Linked DNA regions of Homo sapiens: regions 1 and 2 are each linked to region 3. The links are contacts of gene promoters, found by promoter capture Hi-C in blood cells and fetal thymus (Javierre and others, 2016). All regions are on one chromosome and are shown on one strand. The core of a region is centred on a gene start or on the middle of the fragment in contact, and the rest is flanking DNA. Distances in the headings are between cores, read along the strand shown. Region 1 overlaps M1AP (meiosis 1 associated protein). Region 2 overlaps SLC4A5 (solute carrier family 4 member 5). Region 3 holds the start of MOGS (mannosyl-oligosaccharide glucosidase).

Region 1 (3,108 bases), core at 34-2,533, 150 kb before region 3:
CTTATTTTTTCCCAGACACTCTTAAAACAAATGGTATGAATTTTTTTAACTTTTATTTTAAGTTCAAGGGTGCATGTGCAGGTACATAAGTAAACTTGTGTCATGGGGGTTTGTTGTACAGATTATTTCATCATCCAGGTATTAAGCCTACTACCCATTAGTTATTTTTTCTGATCCTCTCCCTCCTCCCACACTCCACCCTCTGACAGGCCCCAGTGTGTGTTGTCCCTTTTTATGTGTCCATGTGTTCTCATCATTTAGCTCGCACTTATAAGTCAGAACATGCAGTATTTGGTTTTCTGTTCCTGCGTTAGCTTGGAATTTTTATTGTTAAATCCATAGTAATATGTCATCACAATTGTAGACACAAACAAGCTTAGTCCGAAGTTGTGGCTGGTTCTGGGTGTCATCTAATGACACCCTATATGACATCACCAGGCTGGACTGCCCTGATCACTGAGAAGTAAGGCTTAGATTCCAGCTATTTTGAATCATTCTGTGTCTGTCCTATAGTTGTAGTACAACTGCAGACACATAATTAGAACAATGGTGTAGCATTTTTGTATATAAAATGTAATAGAATGAATTTGTGACATCAAAATGCCTTGTAGGGTATCACATTTAGTCTTTTAAAATACCAAGGTGAGGCTTAAAATTTTTAGTACATATTCTCAAATTGGAGTTAAGTTACATTTCTTTTATAGCCTTTTGGGTATCTGGTCAAGAGAAAACAAGATTTTTCTCTGTTTATAATGATGCAATAAACTCAACCCATGTTGGCCACCAAATAAATAAAATAGGAATAAAAATTGATACTGAATGTTGTGTCATTCGATCAGTAATTATTTTATTTATTCACACAAACCTGAGCTAATTGAAAGAAGAGCCCAGCTTGTCCATGCCATTAAGAGGAATATTTCCAATTATTAAGAGAAACATTTCCAATTAAAGCTATGCTTAATGCCAATAATTATTTCTCAAAATTTGTATATACATGTTGTTTTAATAAATTGTATATGAATGATAATTCTAATAATAACTCAATCTAGAGTGCCCCTTAGAGCCTATGCTCATAGGAAACTTAGAACTCTTGCAAAATATAGCTGTTTTAGATGCAGAGAAGTATGATGGGATGATCAATAAAAGGTTGCCAAGCATAAAAATTCTTTTACATTATGATAAAACTCTCAGGGAAAGTGAAATGGAAATATGAGTTCAAGGAGAAAAAGGAACAATCTAAATTTCTATCTCTTGGGAAAAAAAGAGCTTGTTCATGTACTTTTAACACTGAATAATGGTGAGTATCAAATCACCATGGCATTTAGATTCAATTGGACTGTTTTGAAGAGTTATATTATAGTTTTATTTTTAAATGTTGATATTTAAAATATGCAGGAAGTTACATCGTTAGCAACCACTTATAAAGTTGGAATTTTAAAATATAGATGTTCACTTAAAAATGCATAAGGGGGTACATTGTTTCTCAGATTCTTTTAGTGGGTACATGAGAAGAAATGCTTAAAGCCTACTAGGCTACACCTGTGGTGTGATTTCTTCTAATTTCTTTCTCGGATAGTTTTCTTATTTTCCTTTCTAGATTACAAGTTTTCTTTGTGTAAGAATTATATGCAATTCCTTGTGTTTTCACCCCAAAGACTTGGGGAGAGAAGAATATATCAACTGTGGAGCTAAGCCCAGGAAGGTGTTGACTTAAGCAGTCTTTGTATTCTGGCAGGTTTACAGCTCATGCTCATGGATTTTATGTGCATTACAGATATCACTCAGTTCTGCTCTATGGTCAGGAAGGTGTCCCCATCCCAAAATATAATTCTTCCCCACCCCCCACCTGCTATTGATGCATGGAATCCCTTCAAATGATGTCACAAATCTTCAGTCCACATTTATCAAAATGCATATATCCTTAGGAGAAGTAACATTGACCTAGTATCAGATTAAATTAGTTGACTCCTAAGAGCAAGTTTTTATAAAGGTAGATGAGGAGAACCAAAAGGTCGCTTGTCTCGGTTTAACATGTTGGCTCCTTAAGCTGACTGCAGACTAACCCAAATATCTCTTCTTTACTGAAGTTATCCTAAAGAGCGTATTAGATAGGACGTATGAATTCTGAAGTGATCAACCACATCAAAATTCTCACTTCTGGGAAAACCTCATTTTTAAGTAGAGAAGCTTTTGGTGCCTAGACTGACTAAGAAATGAAGATGATGTCTAAGGTGAACACTGTCTGGCCTCCAGTTTGCAGGTCACCCCAAAGTAAAACTAAGCAGTCACACAACTGGATTTCCCTTTGTGTGAGTGAATGAGTTAAAACACTTCCTTTCATGTTTCTGGTAACTCTAAGTAATCAAAACCTTTATGGCTGCAAATTTTCCTTCTGCTAGTGTAGGGAAGATTTTGGTGCAGTGGCTAGAACACAATAGGAATTCAGTAGATGTTGGTCAAATAAATTTTCAGGAAGGGAAGGAACTTCTGAGGAATTATTTATAATAAATTTAGACTGCCAATTAATCTGAAACCTGGTCCCTAAAGACTTGTGTCTTTGATTCGTTTTTCTCTGCAGCAAGTGAAAGGGAACTTTGCTAGGTTGCAGACCTGCATCTCAGAACTCCGCATGTTACAGAGAGAAGGGTGTTTCAGATCACAAGGTGCTTCTCTGCGGCTGGCAGTAGAGGATGGGCTCCAGCAATTCAAACAATACAGCAGACATGTGACCACAAGGGCAGCTCTGACCTATACCTCCCTGGAGGTAAGTGATGCTGGCCTTTAGGACTCCAAGCTGTGTTCCGATTTCAGTCCATATAGGTCATTGTTTATCATCTTTACATTGTTCTATCTTTCATTCACTCTAGATGTAATATTCAAAGCAAGATTTTCAGCTCCCTACAGGCAGAGGACATGTTTCTCTTCTTCCTATAACCTGTACAGTTCTTAATGTAGAGATAGTTATAGAGAAGAGCTCTAAAAATACAGACTGAAGTGAATTATGAGGAAAAACTGAAATAAAAATAAAATCTGAATATGCCATCTGCCTCTGGATTTTTGGAAGTTGTAAAGAAAATGTTAAACTGCCTACATTGGTAGCTGTATTTA
Region 2 (3,276 bases), core at 548-3,047, 230 kb after region 3:
AAGAGGGGACTGACAAGGGAGGTGATCCCCCATATATGAAAGGGTGTGACAGAGGGGATGGAGGGGAGAGAATAAAGATGAGACACTCCAGGAAGGAGGCGTCCACAGGACCTGTGGTTGGTTGATGGGAGCCAGGCATCCTGCCTCTGCACTTTTCCTACTTGCTAGCACAGCAGTGCATCCTAGAACACAATGAAGAAACACATGTGAGCTCCTAATCTTCCTAGGGAGCTTGTCATTCCTTGAACCAGCCCGTCCCCAGGAACATCACTCTGGGGGGCTGGGGTCCCTCAGAGGGTGGGAAGGTATGCTGGCTGCCTGGGGACTGCAGTGGGAAGGACACAGCTGACTCATCAGGAAGATGCTGACCCATTCTCTCCTGTGCTTGGTCTCCAAGTACAACCTCCTTAACCTCACAGCGTTGGACTGGTCCCTGCTGAGCAAGAAGGAGTGTCTGAGCTACGGCGGGCGCCTGCTTGGGAATTCCTGCAAGTTTATCCCAGACCTGGCGCTCATGTCCTTCATCCTTTTCTTTGGGACATACTCCATGACCCTGACCCTGAAGAAGTTCAAATTCAGCCGCTATTTTCCTACCAAGGTAAGCTCACCCTGCAGTTAGGAGGGGACCTGCAGTCAGACAGCTGCTGAGTCCCCCAGAGAGGGTTCTGGTCCACCGACAGGATGGACTCCATGCGAGCACTGGCCCACTGGGGTTTTTCAAGTTAAGTCAGAGAGAACTGTGTTCCCTTGTTGGCTGGTCCCCTTGACAACACTTGGTATTGTCAGGCTTTTATCTTTAGTCTTTGTCTATAGTAGTATCTCATTGTGTTTTTTAAATTTTTCATTTCCCTGATGACTAATGAAGTTGAAAATACAGCTATTCCTGTGTTTATTGGCCACATGCCCAATTGCCTTTCTTTTTGGAAGTGTCTGTTGAAATCTCTTGCACATTTTGGGTTGTCTGCCTTTCTGATTTGCAAGAGTTTGTTATATATTCTGGGTAGAAATGTTTTTGTGATTATATGTGTTGCAAAATCTTCTCCCACTCTGTGACTGTTTTTTTCTTTTTACATCCTTAATGGCATCTTTTGATTAACAGAAATTCTTAGTTTTATTGTAATTGAATATATCAAACTTTCCTCAAGGCAAATATTGGACAGCAGATATTCTTGTATGTTACCTTCTAAAAGCTTCATTGTTTTTCCTTTCATGTTAGATCTACAATCCATCAGAATTGATTCTGATGTGTACTGTGAGACAGTGTTTCTTTGTGATTTTATATAGTCAATTGTTCCAGTATTTTTTAAAGACTATTCTTTCTCCATTGCTTTGCAATACTTCCTTTGCCATATATCAAATATTCCTATATGACAGGGTCTGTTTCTGGGTTCTTTATTCTGTTTCACTAGTTTATTTATATATCAGTATCACAGTCTTCATTTCTGTAGCTTATAAGTCTTTATATCTTTGTCTCCCAAGCTCTCCCCTTTTGTCCTTTTTATATAATATTTTCTTGGCCCTTTGCATTTCCACATGAATTTTAGAATCATCTTAAATTTCACCAAAATGAAAACTTGTTGGAATTTTGATGGGATTATCTTTGCCTCTGTTTGGGAAGAATTAACGTCTTTCAAATTTTGAGTTTTTCTGATTTATGAATACAGTATACTTCATTTATTTTGGTCTTCTTTCTCTCCATAATGTTTTATACATTTTGATCTTTAAGTCTTGAACATTTTTTGTTAGAGTTATTCCTAGGTACTTGATTTTTTTATACCGTCGTAAATGCTAACTGCTATGTTATTATTATTTTATTATTATTATTATTTTTGAGACAGAGTCTCACTCTGTCACCCAGGTGGGAGTGAAATGGCATGATCTCGGCTCACTGCAACCTCCGCCTCCCGGGTTCAAGTGATTCTCCTGCCTCAGCCTCCCAAATAGCTGGGACTACAGGCGCCTGCCACCACACCCGGCTAATTTTTGTAATTTTAGTTGAGACGGGGTTTCACCATGCTGGCCAGGCTGGTCTTGAACTCCTTACCTCAGGTGATCCCCCCACCTCAGCCTCCCAAAGTGCTGGGATTACAGGTGTGAGCCACCGCACCCAGCCCTAACTGCTGTTTTAAATTTTATTTTCTACCTGTTTGTGGCTGGAATAAAAGATTTATGAAAACAGCACTTGCATACATAAGCAGTAACTGTGCCGTGGGGTGGGGGGTACTCGGAAGAATTTAAGCAACTCTTTCCCACCGTAAACTCCATTAGCAGTCTCCTAAAGCCATCTTAACTAAGTATTACAGCTGCTACTGCTACTAATCATAATGATAAAATCTTTGAAATAAATAGTTGAATTTTTCCCAGATTTTCTAAAGACTAAATAAAAGGTGCTTTAGGAAGCTTCACAGTATATAAACTGAGTAAAAAAATAGTTTGCTTACAACACAAATGCACCATCAAGACAAGTTCTCTTCCTTCCTGCCCACTTCCAGTCCAGAGCACATCCCTCAATCTCCTCTTATGTAAAAATTCTCAAGCAGTCACTGTATCTGAGAGTATCTATCTGTTGCCTACAGGATGAAAAGTAATTCATGTGGCATGAAATTCTTGTGCCAACAACATTTTTTCCGTCACATTACTTAAAAATTGCTCAGTTGGGCCAGGCACAGTGGCTCACGCCTGTAATCCCAGCACTTTGGGAGGCCCAGGCAGGCGGATCACGAAGGCAGGAGATCGAGACCATCCTGGCTAACATGGTGAATCCCCGTCTCTACTAAAAATACAAAAAATTGGCCGGGCGTTGTGGTGGGCGCCTGTAGTCCCAGCTACTTGGGAGGCTGAGGCAGGAGAATGGCATGAACCCGGGAGGCAGAGCTTGCCGTGAGCAAAGATTGCGCCACTGCACTCCAGCCTGGGCGACAGAGAGAGACTCTGTCTCAAAAAAAAAAAAAAAAATTGCTCAGTTGCCTTCTGGAATTTCCGGTTGCAGAGAGGAATGAGGCCACACCATTTTATACTCATCAGATTGGTAGACAGATGAAGGTCTTGGGACACCAGATGTTGGAGATGGAAAGCAGTAGGTGGGAATGTAGACAGATACATCCAATTTGGAGAGCAACTGACACTCTCTGATTAGGTTGGACCATATGAAGTTGCCCATATTTGACTGTTTCAACCTACAAAAAAAGTCAAGTTCATGTGGTTTAACTTAATAAGCATTCATATGGTTTTGATGTATATGCTAGGAATATTATAGAAAAGGAAGTATAAACCCAG
Region 3 (3,498 bases), core at 239-2,738:
TCTAAAGTCAAAAGAACAACCTGGATTTGAGTTCCCCAGCTCCATAATTAACTGGCTGTTATTTTGGGTCAGTCTTAACTACTCTCCTCATCTGTAAAAATGGGGGTGGTCTGGCCAGGCGCGGTGGCTCACGCCTGTAATCCCAGCACTTTGGGAGGCCGAGGTGGGTGGATCACCTGAGGTCAGGAGTTCGAGACCAGCCTGGCAAACCTGGTGAAACTCCATCTCTACTAAAAATACAAAAATTAGCTGGGCGTGGTGGTGGGCACCTGTAATCCCAGCTACTCGTGAGGCTGAGGCAGGAGAATCACTTGAACCCTGGAGGCAGAGGTTGCAGTGAGCCGAGATCATGCCATTGCACTCCAGCCTGGTGACAGAGCGAGACTCCGTCTCAAAAAAAAAAAAAAAAAAAAAATGGGTATGGTTCAACATGCATTGAGTGCTGGCATTGTGCTTCTAGACTGTGAACTTGAGGTTGGGGCCATTTTCTCTGAGTCCCCAGCACCTTGCATAATGCGATATAGGGTGTACAATAAACATGTGTTGAATTTATAAATATTTAGCATCTGCCTTATGCCTATAATTGATTAGTACTGTGATACAAAGATGAAAAATGAAACAGGTATGTAATAAGTGCTACAATAAGGATGTCGACAAATGCAACGGTAGCAAGAAAGACAAAAACAGGACTAACCATTGGGTTTGGTCAGATGATTTCATAAGCAAAAAGTCTACCACTAGTGGAGAGTGGGGCCACCAGTCAGATTATAGTGAAATATAAGTGGTCGTGTTGCATAAAGCATCAGTCTCTCTCTCTCTCTCTCTCTCTCCCTCCGTCCCTCCCTCCCTCCCTCCATCTCTCTCTCTCTCTCTCTTTCTTTTTTTTTGAAACAGTTTCACTCTTGTTGCCCAAGCTGGAGTGCAATGGCGCAATATCGGCTCACTGCAACCTCCGCCTCCCAGGTTCAAGCAATTCTCCTGCCTCAGCCTCCCGAATAGCTGGGATTACAGGCACCCACCACCACACCCGGCTAATTTTTGTATTTTTAGTAGAGATGGGGTTTCACCAAGTTGACCAGGCTGGTCTCCAACTCCTCATGTCTGGTGATCCACCTGCCTCGGCCTCCCAAAGTGCTGGGATTACAGATGTGCGCCTCGGTGCCTGGCCACATCAGTCTTTTTTTTTTTTTTTTGAGACGAAGTCTCGCTCTGTCGCCCAGGCTGGAGTGCAGTGGCACAATCTCGGCTCACTGCAACCTCCGCCTCCCGGGTTCAAACGATTCTCATGCCTCAGCCCAACGTTAGATTGGTTTTTCCGAGCCTGTGAACTCCATGGGGTCGCCAGATAAACGCAATCCCGGTGGACCAACGCCCAGGACAGACGCTACGTACCAACCCTGTGTCAAGCCGCAGGCAGCGGTTCCGGACTCTGGGACTTAACCTAACGTGGCGGGGCGGGACTTCCGGCGGGAGGCGGAGGCGGAGGCGCAGGCGCTGGCTGGCAGGTGTCGCTAACCGGACGGTGGTCGCCAGGGCGAGAGGCGGGAGCCGGAGAGGTGAGGCAGGACCCGGGCTCCACTGCCGCCTCTCCGAGCTCTTGTGACGCGGACCTCAGTGCCAGGATGGCTCGGGGCGAGCGGCGGCGCCGCGCAGTGCCGGCAGAGGGAGTGCGGACAGCCGAGAGGGCGGCTCGGGGAGGCCCCGGGCGACGGGACGGCCGGGGCGGCGGGCCGCGTAGCACGGCTGGAGGAGTGGCTCTGGCCGTCGTGGTCCTGTCTTTGGCCCTGGGTATGTCGGGGCGCTGGGTGCTGGCGTGGTACCGTGCGCGGCGGGCGGTCACGCTGCACTCCGCGCCTCCTGTGTTGCCTGCCGACTCCTCCAGCCCCGCCGTGGCCCCGGACCTCTTCTGGGGAACCTACCGCCCTCACGTCTACTTCGGCATGAAGACCCGCAGCCCGAAGCCCCTCCTCACCGGTAACCGGGCCCCAGGGCGGGCAGGCAGGCGGACTCCTAATCTGGGCGCCCCAGCTTGAAGCGAGAGCAAGGGTGGGAAGGAATGGATCAGGAGAGTTATGAAGAGGGATGACCCGGAGACCCGGAGGGACAGGTCCCCTGCTCTTTGACTTACGTGGCCATTCTACCCCCAGGACTGATGTGGGCGCAGCAGGGCACCACCCCGGGGACTCCTAAGCTCAGGCACACGTGTGAGCAGGGGGACGGTGTGGGTCCCTATGGCTGGGAGTTCCACGACGGCCTCTCCTTCGGGCGCCAACACATCCAGGATGGGGCCTTAAGGCTCACCACTGAGTTCGTCAAGAGGCCTGGGGGTCAGCACGGAGGGGACTGGAGCTGGAGAGTGACTGTAGAGCCTCAGGTCAGGGCCTCAGGACACCCTTTTCTCAGCCCAGACCCCCTCCATCCTTCCCTTGCTGCCAGCAAATGCAGCATGAAGTGGGCTCTGGCTGCCTGGCTTAAATCCTGCCTTAAACAACTGCCTGTATAACCATTTCTATTTACCATCTCTAAGCCTTGATTTCCTTGCTTGTAAAATGTACAATGTAGATAATAATAGCACTTAACTCACAGGACTGTAAGAATTAAATGAAAAAGAGGCTGGGCGCGGTGGCTCACGCCTGTAATCCCAGTACTTTGGGAGGCCGAGGCTGGCGGATCACCTGAGGTCAGGAGTTCCAGACCAGCCTGACCAAAATGGAGAAACACCGTCTCTACTGAAAATATAAAATTAGCCGGGCGTGGTGGCGCATGCCTGTGATCCAAGCTACTTGGGAGGCTGAGGCAGGAGAATTGCTTGAACCAGGGAGGTGGAGGTTGCGCTGAGCCGAGATCGTGCCATTGCACTCCAGCCTGGGCAACAAGAGCAAAACTCCATCTCAAGAAAAAAAAAAAAGCCAGGCGCGGTGGCTCACGCCTGTAATCCCAGCACTTTGGGAGGCTGAGGCGGGCGGATCATGAGGTCAGGAGATGGAGACCATCCTGGCTAACACGGTGAAACCCGGTCTCTACTAAAAATACAAAAAATTAGCTGGGCGTGGTGGCGGGCGCCTATTGTCGCAGCTACTCGGGAGGCTGAGGCAGGAGAATGGCGTGAACCTGGGAGGCGGAGCTTGCAGTGAGCTGAGATCGCGCCACTGCACTCCAGCCTGGGCGACAGAGCGAGACTCCGCCTCAAAAAAAAAAAAAAAAAAAAAGAATTAAATGAAATCAACTGTGTAGAGTTCTTAGTGTAGGACATAGTACAAAAGTATACTGTTATCTCCCAGGGCACCCAGTGCAAGGCTCTTTATCTCATCCCGCTTGGGTGTACCTGGTTACCCTCAGTGACCCTCATTACTGCCAGACGTATGTTGTTTACATTACCCCTGCCTACTGTTCCTTTCCCTCACTAAGGCTGATTCTCAAGAGGGAATTCAAGAGAGAATGCCAATCTAACACTGTTCTTTTCTGTCCTCGTTGGTCACTCAGGACTCAGGTACTTCT

What was found. The method cuts DNA at HindIII sites, captures the fragments that hold promoters and counts their contacts. A CHiCAGO score of 5 or more calls a contact.
Region 1: a fragment that was not itself captured here is called in contact with the fragment with the promoter of MOGS in region 3 in 1 of 17 cell types (total B cells); the score reaches 5.7 in total B cells.
Region 2: a contact is called between a fragment that was not itself captured here and the fragment with the promoter of MOGS in region 3, in 1 of 17 cell types (M2 macrophages). The highest score is 5.3, in M2 macrophages.

Annotation. Positions count from the first base shown.
Region 1 is chr2:74,614,620-74,617,727 of GRCh38, reverse strand. It overlaps M1AP (meiosis 1 associated protein), which reads left to right. Exons shown (of 11, transcript NM_001321739.2): 3 at 2,579-2,764. Among named protein-coding and RNA genes, the nearest start is that of M1AP, 32 kb to the left of the region's middle. The HindIII fragment of the contact is 1,812 bases long and covers 378-2,189 here.
Region 2 is chr2:74,236,657-74,239,932 of GRCh38, reverse strand. SLC4A5 (solute carrier family 4 member 5) reads left to right here. Exons shown (of 31, transcript NM_133478.3): 21 at 398-598. Among named protein-coding and RNA genes, the nearest start is that of MTHFD2, 40 kb to the right of the region's middle. The HindIII fragment of the contact is 1,210 bases long and covers 1,193-2,402 here.
Region 3 is chr2:74,463,372-74,466,869 of GRCh38, reverse strand. It overlaps MOGS (mannosyl-oligosaccharide glucosidase), which reads left to right and starts at 1,488. Exons shown (of 4, transcript NM_006302.3): 1 at 1,488-1,974; 2 at 2,148-2,374; 3 at 3,484-3,498. The coding sequence starts at 1,623. RefSeq lists a silencer at 1,702-1,921. The HindIII fragment of the contact is 14,256 bases long and covers 1-3,498 here.